Regions from separate parts of the Homo sapiens genome. Here region 2 is linked to region 1. The links are contacts of gene promoters, found by promoter capture Hi-C in human tissues and cell types (Jung and others, 2019). All regions are on one chromosome and are shown on one strand. Each heading gives the region's core, a stretch centred on a gene start or on the middle of the fragment in contact. The rest is flanking DNA. Distances are from core to core; before and after follow the strand shown. Region 1 holds the start of PEX5L (peroxisomal biogenesis factor 5 like). Region 2 overlaps PEX5L (peroxisomal biogenesis factor 5 like).

Region 1 (5,322 bases), core at 2,109-4,608:
CAAATAATCACCTCAGCCCTGAACATACAGAGGTATTGGTGGAATTAAGACCATAGGCCCTCAATGAGCAACAGAGTTTTGTCAGAACCGATGCTAAAGTATATTCAATCATCATCAGTGCCCTTGGTCAAAAGAAAAAAATAAGTAAATCTAAAACAGTCACAAAAGAAGCAACCTTTGCTTCATTTACTGGGGTGACTAACTCCCCTTGGAAATAATTGGTAAGGCAGCTGGATAAAAACATAGCTCCAGGACCCTGCTCCTAAGAAATATACCTGCGGCTTTTACTATGAAACCAAGAAATATCTGTTACTCTATGCTCTATCTGTAATAGATGCCAACTTTTATTTTCTAATGAACTAGCAGAGCAAACCAAATGTGTGTTTTTAAAAGTCTGCGGTTTCTAAAATGAATTCAGATTCTACCATAAACCAGATGAATTAGCCATATGTATGAGAATTAATAGACTTTATCTGCAAAATCATTAAGTTGCAAAAACAAAGGCACCACAGGAGTTTTAAATTAGACTATTTTTAAGTCTTCCTGAGAACACCTGCCCCTACTTCAAACTGCTAATTTACAAAGCACTTTATTTTAAAGTCTCTTGGATACAGAAAAGAGAAGAATTAGAATGCATAGCAAAAGATTGCAAACATTTCTGTTTCACTCTTGTTTTAAGGTATCAGTCAAGTAACATTATGTTTCAAATTAACTCCAAAGCTGGCAGAAATGTTAGTAAATCTGCTTATCCCTGGTCCACTTTACCAAATATGGATTCAGATTTTAATCATACACATTTTGGAGTGTTTGGAATGTGTTTCTTCTTATCTGTGATTAGAGTCAGGTACACACAGGAAGATGATAGTATCTCTGATAAGGAAACGTTATTTTGTCCATAGGCTAAATAATATTCTTTGGGGGAAGAGATATGAGTTTAAAATGTAAGCCAACAAGTATATTATGAATCAATCTGTCATAGGTATTTTTTTGTTGGGGGGAGCAGATGCCCATTCAGATCATCATACTATTGAATAACTACTAAACGTACCTACTAAGGCCTCGGAAGTTTTATGCTTAACATTAATGGTTAATAGTAAGTAGGAAAAAAGTATTATGCTCTGAAATTTTGGTGGATGTATTGATTACAGTCTTTATTTAGTAATGTTTTAATTTAAGCTTGGCAGCAAAGATTTGTGAGTTTTACTGCAAGTCATCATATTTGCTGTTACAGCAGTGCACAAGCAAAAGACATTAAGTTGGGAGAATATGCAGAGTCTTATATTTTGTTTATTCTTTCAAAGTGAAATTAAACCCTCAGACATTGTTCCAGGCAACTCAAGTTTCAATAACATTCTCCTTTGAGATATTGAGAAAATTGAGTTAAAATTGTTTTTGGGTGCATGAATTTACCATATTGTTGCTTCGATTCTTCATTCACAGTAACATATTTTTTAAGCAACAAAACAATACTGTGCAAAGTTTTTGTTAATTTCCCCTTAGTGGTCAATTGTCAATTTTGTGTAAATGAACAATTTTTTGAGGGTTGACTCTATTAAAATCTTCCTGTTTTACCCTTGTGAAGAAACTGTTTAAAAAACAGATAATATATAAAATTGTAAGTATCATTCTTGGGTGAAGATGAAGCATAAAACTATAGTAATAATTCTTTGTTAATTTTTTCAGCAGTCATTATTTGAATTCTTCTATGTTACTTAACTTTTCAATTGGTGTAGCTTTTATAAGAAACATGCAGATCACATTGATCATATATAATATTTAAAAATATACTTCATTCACTACTTTTTGTCTATCAAATGTGATATAATCACATTAATAATTTTCAAAACAGGATGATGTTAGTCATACGGGAAATCTTTTGGAATTCTGGCACTGTATATTGAGAATTCTTATAAAAATTGAGACTATGATGAAATATTGTGTTTTATTTAAAAATGGATTATAGTCCAAAAGAATTTCCCTAAGTTATGGAAATTAAATCTGGGTAGTACTAAGTCATAAATATAACAACATATTTATCTATTTCCAATTGCTCTAAAAGACACAGAAGCAAAATCCTCAGTATTCATAAATGTTATACACCAGGATAAAGGCATCACACATAATGATTGTATTTGACCATCTTTGGAATGGAAAGGAAGCCCAAACATCAAACCTGATGACTAAACCATTTAGGTGCGATAAAGAGTCCAGTTCATACTTTAGAAAGCTGAGTTAGTATTTTATTTTTCTCCCAAAGCATATATCTGCCTTTATAAGAACCAACCAACCGTATGAATGAGAACTGGAGTCAAGGTTAAAGTAATCTTGCCCAAGAGAGTAGAGTGTGTTTGCATCGGAAAGAAGCAGCGGCTCAGCTCAGATGAATATTAATAACAACCGGAGGCAGCACCTCCCCTGAAAAACATTAGAGCTCCTTGGACATGTGTTTGAAATTCATCCTCCCAAGTCATCCTGTGACTATTGGAGTAGATGGCAATGTCCCATAATGTGAAGGGGGAAAATACACTATAAATCGTTTTTTAAATATAACACTTTAAAAAATGAAACGAAAGTGACAGAGTGTTCTAAGTCAAGCAACCTTTTCAGATGGTAAAGGAAAAGCTTTGTCTTTCCTATTATTGTTTGCCCTTCAGTTGACATACATGCTGAGATGCATCAATAGGATTACAACGGAAACACGGTCATCTCTAGGGTTTCCTCTGTTTCGATTCCTTGATCCTGTTTAAAGAAACAGGCTCAGGGAATGCACAGAAAACAAACTTCCCCAATCGAAGTTCTGAGGTCTTCCCTCCCCTTCTCCCACCTTCGGAAACCGGTCTAGTTTTCCCGGCAGCACCGGACAGAAATGTCACGGTCATGTTGCATCACTTCACTTGTTGAGCTGTGCGAAGGCAGCACTTGACCACAGAAACTTGGTGAACCGCCTTGCTCTTAAATTAGCCCCCAAGAATTCTCTCCAGCCCTATAGAAATGTCTTACCTGCATGTGTCCCTGGTACATTCTGCTTCGGTTTCTTCAGGGCTCCCTGAGGCCACCGGATGCTTTTCCCCCGTGCTTACTTGCCCACCAAAAGAGGGGAAAAGGTGGGTGCACAGCGGGTTCTCAGAGGGTGCTCCTGAGCCCCCTGGAGCTCCGGGTACTCGGCCGGCCGGCGGCCACTCGGCAGCGCTGCGGGCTGCCGGGAACTGTTCTCCGCTCGGGGTGCTGAAAGCGGACGCGGGAGAGCGCGCAGAGAAGGCGAGGAGCCGGGTCGGCCAGGCTCTCCTGCAGGCGCGGGTCCTGCTCGCGGGGCGTCTCTAGAACTCACTCCTTCTTCGCCGAACTCTTTCTCGCTTCCTGCCAGGTTGCCTCATGTCTCTCTCTCTCTGAGCTGCGAACCCCCTCCTCCCAGCCCTGACGTGAGCGCCTACACCAGCCGCCGCCGCAGCTGCCGAGCGGGGCGCGCGCCGTTCTCCCAGCCGCGTGCCTGCCGAGAGGCCGCGGGACCGGGCACGCGCGCGCGTTCCCAGGGGCCTGGGAGCGGCCCGAGGGCGGCCCCGGGCGGTGCGCGCTCCCCGAGCGCGTCCTCGGGGCTGCGCGCGCGCGGCGGCAAGGCGAGGTGCCGGCAGGCGGTGGTCGCGCTGGTGTACAACGCCCGCAGCAGCGCGGCGTTCAGGTGCGGCGTCGGCGGGCAGGGCGATTCTAGCGGAGAGGATGGCCGGCCGGAAGAAAGGCGGGAAGACATGCATCGTCTCTCCGGGGGCCATCCACCGCGGCTGAGCCTGTTATCCTACAGACATTATAGGCTGAGTGCAGGGGTTGCCGAAGAGTTTACTTCGGTTCTGATTCAGCTCTCGAAAGTTACGTCCGTATCACCCGTTAAATAAAGACTCCCCGCTCCCCTCATCCCCAGTTCATCGCCGAGCATTCTATTTAAAACGGCAAACCCTAGTCCCTGAGGATCTGGCATGTTTTATTTTTTTCCCTAGCACGTAACATCACCTAACATCCTTTATATTTTCCATATTTATTTTATGTACTGTCTGTCTCTCCCTCTGTACAATGTTATTTCCATGAGATCAGGGACTTTTTTTTAGGGGGGTGGAGTGTTGCACTTGGTTTTGCACGTGTGTGCACAGTAAGGTATTTAGTACTTCCTGACACATGGCAGGCACACAATAAATATTTGCTGAATGAATAGACCTTTACTACTATACACTTACACACACATACACACATATATGAAGAGTGCATTTAAATATGTCTCAAGTTGAGACTGGGTAGTTTGATGTGTCTACACAATAAATGTTCATATATACACACACACCACGGGGTGGTGTATACTGTGATTACCTAATTTTGTTGGTAAAAACATCTCCAATTCTACAGGCCCCTCATATTATGTACAGCATGATATCCCCAAAATATTGCATATAGCATAATATGCTTTTTATAAAGTTTAAAAAATCCCTAGAAATGTCAATGTGTATTCATATATTCATATACAACAATATAAAAAGGAAAGCAGTGGAACAATGAATATAGTGTTCAGAGTGTTGGTGACCCTGGGTGAAGGGAGGCAGGGAAATAGATGGGGAAGCATTTCACTTGAAGTTTAGATGTTAATGTCTTATCTTCTATGCCGGGTAGTGATTCATAGGACACCTAATATCCTATTAAAAATTACTGTGTAACTAAATAAAATAGAACCATGTATGGACTAATGAGGAGAATGTGAAATGAACAAAAGGATGTGAAATGAACCAATTCAATGCATCTGAGGTCCTAAAACAACCAACCAAACAAACACAAAAGGACTAAGACCTGTAAGCAGGAGACATGGATTCCTATTAGATTCCACTAGTAGTTACCCTTGGACAATTTCCTTTTACTACTTTGGACATCAGTTTTTTCATGTCTAAACTCTGTATAAAAAACTTATTTTTTTTACCCTGAAAATAGAGATATGTTCATAAGCACTGTAAACTGTAAAATGTCATCCAGTTCTTATTTTATTGTTCTTTATAGGACAAAGCACAGGACTTGGAGTCAGCAACAAGAGGTGCTAGTTCCATCTCACTACCTCAATGCTCTCTTGGGCAAGTGTACCAACTCTCTATTTCCTCAATTTTGAAATAAGACAAATATCTACCTAGTGTGCTGCACAGAGCTGCTGAGGACTGAATGTATGCAAAGGAAGTTGTAAATTACCAACCATGATATATGAATATGCAAACAGACTTTTTTTTCCCAGTTCAGAAAAGATGAGGACTGATTTTCTGAGACCTCAAGTACTGCAGATTTTAAAATGGTACTAATTAT
Region 2 (5,059 bases), core at 1,418-3,917, 150 kb before region 1:
ATAACCTTAGCTTCTTCCTTCTTTTACAGTGCACGTAACCAGTGTTTGACTAGCTCATTGTGAGAGATAGAAAATTCAAATTGGAGAAGGTCCCTACAGCTCTACCTTTCCACCAGTCCCTGCTGTTTCACTGGCCCTGGCACTGCACTGGAGAGACTAGCTTCTGAGCAAGATCGGTGGCTCCCTGGCCTGGAATCTCTTCACCCAGCTCACGTAGGAAAGCCACAGAAAGACAAAGAAACCACTTGCATTAACCCTTTGTGGCAGTCTACAACAATGACTGCAGCACTCCTCTTTAATCTCCAAGCTTTTCCTCTAGGTGGGGGATGGATTTTTGCTGATGTCTCAATACTCTTCTGTCTGCTTCTCCCTTGTACTCAAGGCAGGGGCCGGGCTCCATTGAACTCACAACCTGGATTTCTTTAGTAGTGCATGGGCTTCATGAGTTAACCATTCCTATGGGATCTTTAGGATGGTGTGTCAAACTTTACTCTTAATAATCTTGCTTTCTGATTCCAATTCCAAGTCACAGTGGTTGGATGTTGTTGGTGAAGTGGAAACATCTGGCTCTGTCACGGCTTAGTGTGTGACTTGAAGTAAGTTTCTTGATCTCTCTGAGTTTCAGTTTCCTCATTTGAAAATGGGGAATTAATTGTCTTTTAGGGATAAGATGAGGATTAAATGATCTAATGTATGTAAAGTGCCAGGCATACAATAGGTACTCAATAAATGTGATTTCCATTCTTTTACAGCCAATTTGTGATTTTTTCTATCCTTTTTGTTGTTGTTGTTGATGTTCTCCTATTTTCACTGCTCCTTTTTATTTGAGACAAGAATCAGATCCATACACTGACAGAAAGAGAAAATGCTACTGGGAATAAAACTGAAGATGAGACAAAGATATTGGTTCTACAGAGGATCCTATGAAGTAAATTTATCATAAAGTGGCCTGAAAGTGTCAGCTTATCTCAACAGAATCTTCCTGAGGCAATAGGAACCACTTCCCAATGCTAAGATGCCCTGAGATACGAGGGATGTTTTGGGGCTAGGAAGTACTTGAACGTGGAGGGAAAGAAGTGACATTCAGAACTAAGCTGCCTGGCTTTATGTCTAAAATGTAAGCATGGCAGACAGCCAAAATAGGCTAGAATGCCTCACATTTTATATCCACTGAATGGTCAAATAGAAATTTCCAGACCACTATTATGTTGGCAAGGAGTCTAGGCCCAATGTGATGTCCTTATAATGGAGGAAAGGAAATTGATGGCATAATATAGAATGCCATATACATCTTTTTACTAATTGTACAAACAATTAAGAGTTAGTCACTTGCTCCTAGACTTTTAGAAGCAAATTATAAAATTGTCTACTTGAACATAGGAAGTACATTTGTTATGGAATAACAGCTGGCAAGTACTAATTTAATTCTATATCTTCTTCTCACATTCAGAATAAATGAATTACTAAAAGGGTGAACTGTGAATTCAAACTTGGCTCAGTAAGGTTCTTTCCCCCTCCAAAGTGTCCTGGGCAATTCCTGTATTTGTTCTGAGCTCTTTGTCCCTTTGTTCTTTTTCTTGCAAATGTGAAACAAATGCTTGGCACACACAGAAAGCCTAATTGGTTACCCAGCTGATGAAGGAGGTGGCTTGGAGGTCGAATGGCCAGCTTTGAAGCTGGGAAAGTCCCTGCAGAGTACGTTTTCAAAAGGAGAGAAGGGTGGGTGTAGCCTTTCACTCTCTGGAGAAAGACAAATCACATTTTAGCATGTGTGTGTCCTTTAGCTAAGATTTAAAAGTAAGAATCTTATTGCTCCACACAAAGACAGCCCTGGTATGGTAGGTGGTGTCTGCTCTGCTGATTTCTTAAATCCTATTTTAAAGATCCTTCAGGCACATGAAGTTTTGGGTTTCAGTATCTGTGTGCTTAAATTAAGAGCACCAACCGGTGAGGTGTGTTGGCTCATGTTTGTAATCCCAGTGCTTTGGGAGGCCAAGGCAGGAGGATCGCTCGAAGCCAGGAGTTTGAGACCAGCCTAGGCAATATAACAAGATTCAGTCACTACAAAACAATTAAAAAAATTAAAAAAAATTAGCCAGGAGTGATGGCTATCACCTGTAGTCTCAGCTACTCGGGAGACTAGGTGGGAGGACTGCTTTAGCCCAGAAGTTTGAGCCAGCCTGGGTGACAGAGTAAGACCCTGTCTCTAAAAAAAAGGAGCACAAAGGAACAAAGGATAATCTCCTCTTACAATGAACGTGAAAAGTGTGTGCGTGTGTGTATGCACATGTGTGTGTATGCGTGTGATAGTGTAGATCTAATAAAATACCTTCAGGGTGTAATCTTATTGTCACATATGCAGACTTTTCTCATGGACCACATGTCAGTCACCACTCACAGCTTCATAGGCTGTGGGATCCCACTGCCCAGAGGATGTCGCTGACTTCACTTCTATTTGCTGTAGCAGGGGGATTTCCAGCTCAGTTGCTTCTGAGCAGGCTATGTTTTGCCAGTCACCCTTGTAGCACTTTGTCCTGTCTTCTTCACTTTAGTTCAGCTAATCTATTTTGGTGTCCTGATGTTCCGTGAATATTGTGCATAAAATAAGGCAGCACAGGACAGTGGTTAAGACTGTCTGAGTTTGACTGAGTGCAGTGGCTCATGCCTGTAATCCCAGCACTTTGGGAGGCTGAGGCAGGCGGATCACCTGAGGTCGGGAGTTCAAGGCCAGCCTGACCAAAATGGAGAAACCCCGTCTCTACTAAAAATACAAAATTAGCCGGGCGTGGTGGCACATGCCTGTAATCTCAGCTACTCTGGAGGCTGAGGCAGGAGAAATTGCTTGACCCTGGGAGGCGGAGGTTGCGGTGAGCCAAGATCATGCCATTGCACTCCAGCTTGGGCAACAAGAGCAAAACTCCGTCTCAAAAAAAAATGTCTCTCTGAACCTTAACTCTGCCCACTAAAATAAGGATAAAACTATAAAGTATTGGATGAAGTGCTTATCTACAGCTCTTGGAACAGCACTATAAGCATAGTCATGATGCAAATAAATATTTATCGCTACTAGAAGATTCTACTGAAAGCATTCATGCTTGACACAAACTGTAGATATATGAGGTTGGAAATGATTACAAAAACTATTTATTGAAAATATACAATATGGTAAGTGCTTATGAGTGTTTCCTTACTTAGTCTACATAACATTTCTGTGAAAAAGGTATTCTAATTTTACATATGAGAAACTTGAGGCTTGGCAATATTAAGTAACTTGTCCAAAATCACACAGCTGGTGTGGTAGAAAAACGCCCCCCTCTAATATGGCCACATTCTAATCCCCAGAACCTGTAAATATGTTACCTTGACATGTCACATGGCAAAAGGGACTTTGCAGATGTAATTAAGGATTTGGAGACTGAAAGATTAATCTGGATGATCCCTGTGGGCCCAATGTAATCACAAGAGCTCTTATAAAGTGCAGTTAGGGGGGTCAGAGCCAGAGAAGGACATGGAGACCAATGTGAGAGAGAGAGCTGCTGCTTTTGAAGATGGAGCAAGGAGTCATAAGCCACCAAATTGTAGGTGCCCTCTAGAAGCTGGAAAAAGCAAGGAAGTGAATTCTGTCCTGGAGCCTCCAGAAGTAATGTAGTTCTATTGACATCTTGATTTTAGGATAATAAATTTGTGTTGTTTTAAGCCATTAGATTTGTGGTAATTGTTACGGTGACAATAGAAAACTAATATAACTGGTATGTCAGTGTTTACACCAGGATTCAAATACAGGATACAGGTCTCATCTCTCCATAGCCTGTGTTCTTGCACAGTCCTCTCTAGACTTTATCTAAACCTTAAGGCAGGGTGCTGACTTTATTGATAAGGCTTTGATTCATTTGTTTGTTTAGCTTCTAATTATTTGGCAGTTTGGATAGTCCAAGGAATGATTTAAATAGTTGGCAGTCTCAAAAACTTTTGTTCTTCAGATAATCTAATAGAACTGGGTGGAAAAAAATTATAATTTAGAACTTCTATGAGGCAAAAGATACGTTCTTTTAGGGTTCATAGAGAAAAAAAATCACTGACCGACCTCCAGAAGAGGTAAATATTTCCTAAATTTTTTTTATTTTGTATTGATTTATATAAAAACTAGATTTCTTACGAATTAAAAATATATAATATTTTTGCCTTGAGATATACGCTTAATATTAAAAACACTTATCAAATAAGAGTCTTTCTTCAGGATAAAAATCTGTGTGAACCAGGTGCACTGAATAATGGAGGTGGGAAAAAATAAATCCCCAGTCTCAGAACACTATTTTTCCAGACCCCCTACGTTGGAGAGTATTATGGATTGAGTGGTCTATGTAGAAGTCCTAACACTGAGTACTCAGAATATTACCTTATTTGGAAACAGTTTCATTCGAGATATAATTAAACATGAGGTCATATTAGAATAGGGTGGGCCCCTACTTTAATAGGACTGGTGTCCTTATAAAAAGGGGAAATTTGGGCCAGGCGCGGTGGTTCACGCCTGTAATTCCAGCACCTTGGGAGGCCAAAGTGGGCAGATCACAAGGTCAGGAGATTGAGACCATCCTGGCTAACACAGTGAAACCCTGTCTCTACTAAAGATACAAAAAATCAGCCAGTCGTGGTGGCAGGTGCCTATAGTCCCAGCTACTTGGGAGGCTGATGCAAGAAAATCGCTTGAACCCAGGAGGCGGAGGTTGCAGTGAGCCGAGATCGTGCCACTGCACTCCAGCCTGGGTGACAGAGCGAGACTCCGTCTCAGAAAAAAAAAAAAAAGCGGGGGGTGGAAATTTGGACACAGAGACAGACATGCACACTGGGAAGCACACATGCAGAGAAAACACCACATGAATATTGGAGTTATGCTGCCATAAACCAAGGCAGTACCAGAAATTAGAAGAGAGGCCTGGAATAGATCCTCACTAAGCACGTTCATGGGGTGCATGGCCCACCTGAAAGCATGATTTTGGGCTTCTAGCCCTCAGAACTGAGATGGTAAGTTTCCATTGTTGAATCAACTCAGTGGGTGGTA

What was found. The method cuts DNA at HindIII sites, captures the fragments that hold promoters and counts their contacts. A contact is called where the count stands out against the background at its distance.
Region 2: a fragment that was not itself captured here is called in contact with the fragment with the promoter of PEX5L in region 1 in 1 of the 25 tissues and cell types used here (lymphoblastoid cells).

What each region holds. Positions count from the first base shown.
Region 1 is chr3:180,033,579-180,038,900 of GRCh38, forward strand. It overlaps PEX5L (peroxisomal biogenesis factor 5 like), which reads right to left and starts at 3,359. Exons shown (of 15, transcript NM_016559.3): 1 at 3,001-3,359. The coding sequence starts at 3,021. RefSeq lists a silencer at 3,425-3,474. The HindIII fragment of the contact is 6,291 bases long and covers 1,900-5,322 here.
Region 2 is chr3:179,880,859-179,885,917 of GRCh38, forward strand. All of the region lies in intron 4 of PEX5L (peroxisomal biogenesis factor 5 like), which reads right to left. Among named protein-coding and RNA genes, the nearest start is that of PEX5L-AS2, 15 kb to the right of the region's middle. RefSeq lists an enhancer at 2,351-2,410. The HindIII fragment of the contact is 5,520 bases long and covers 1-5,059 here.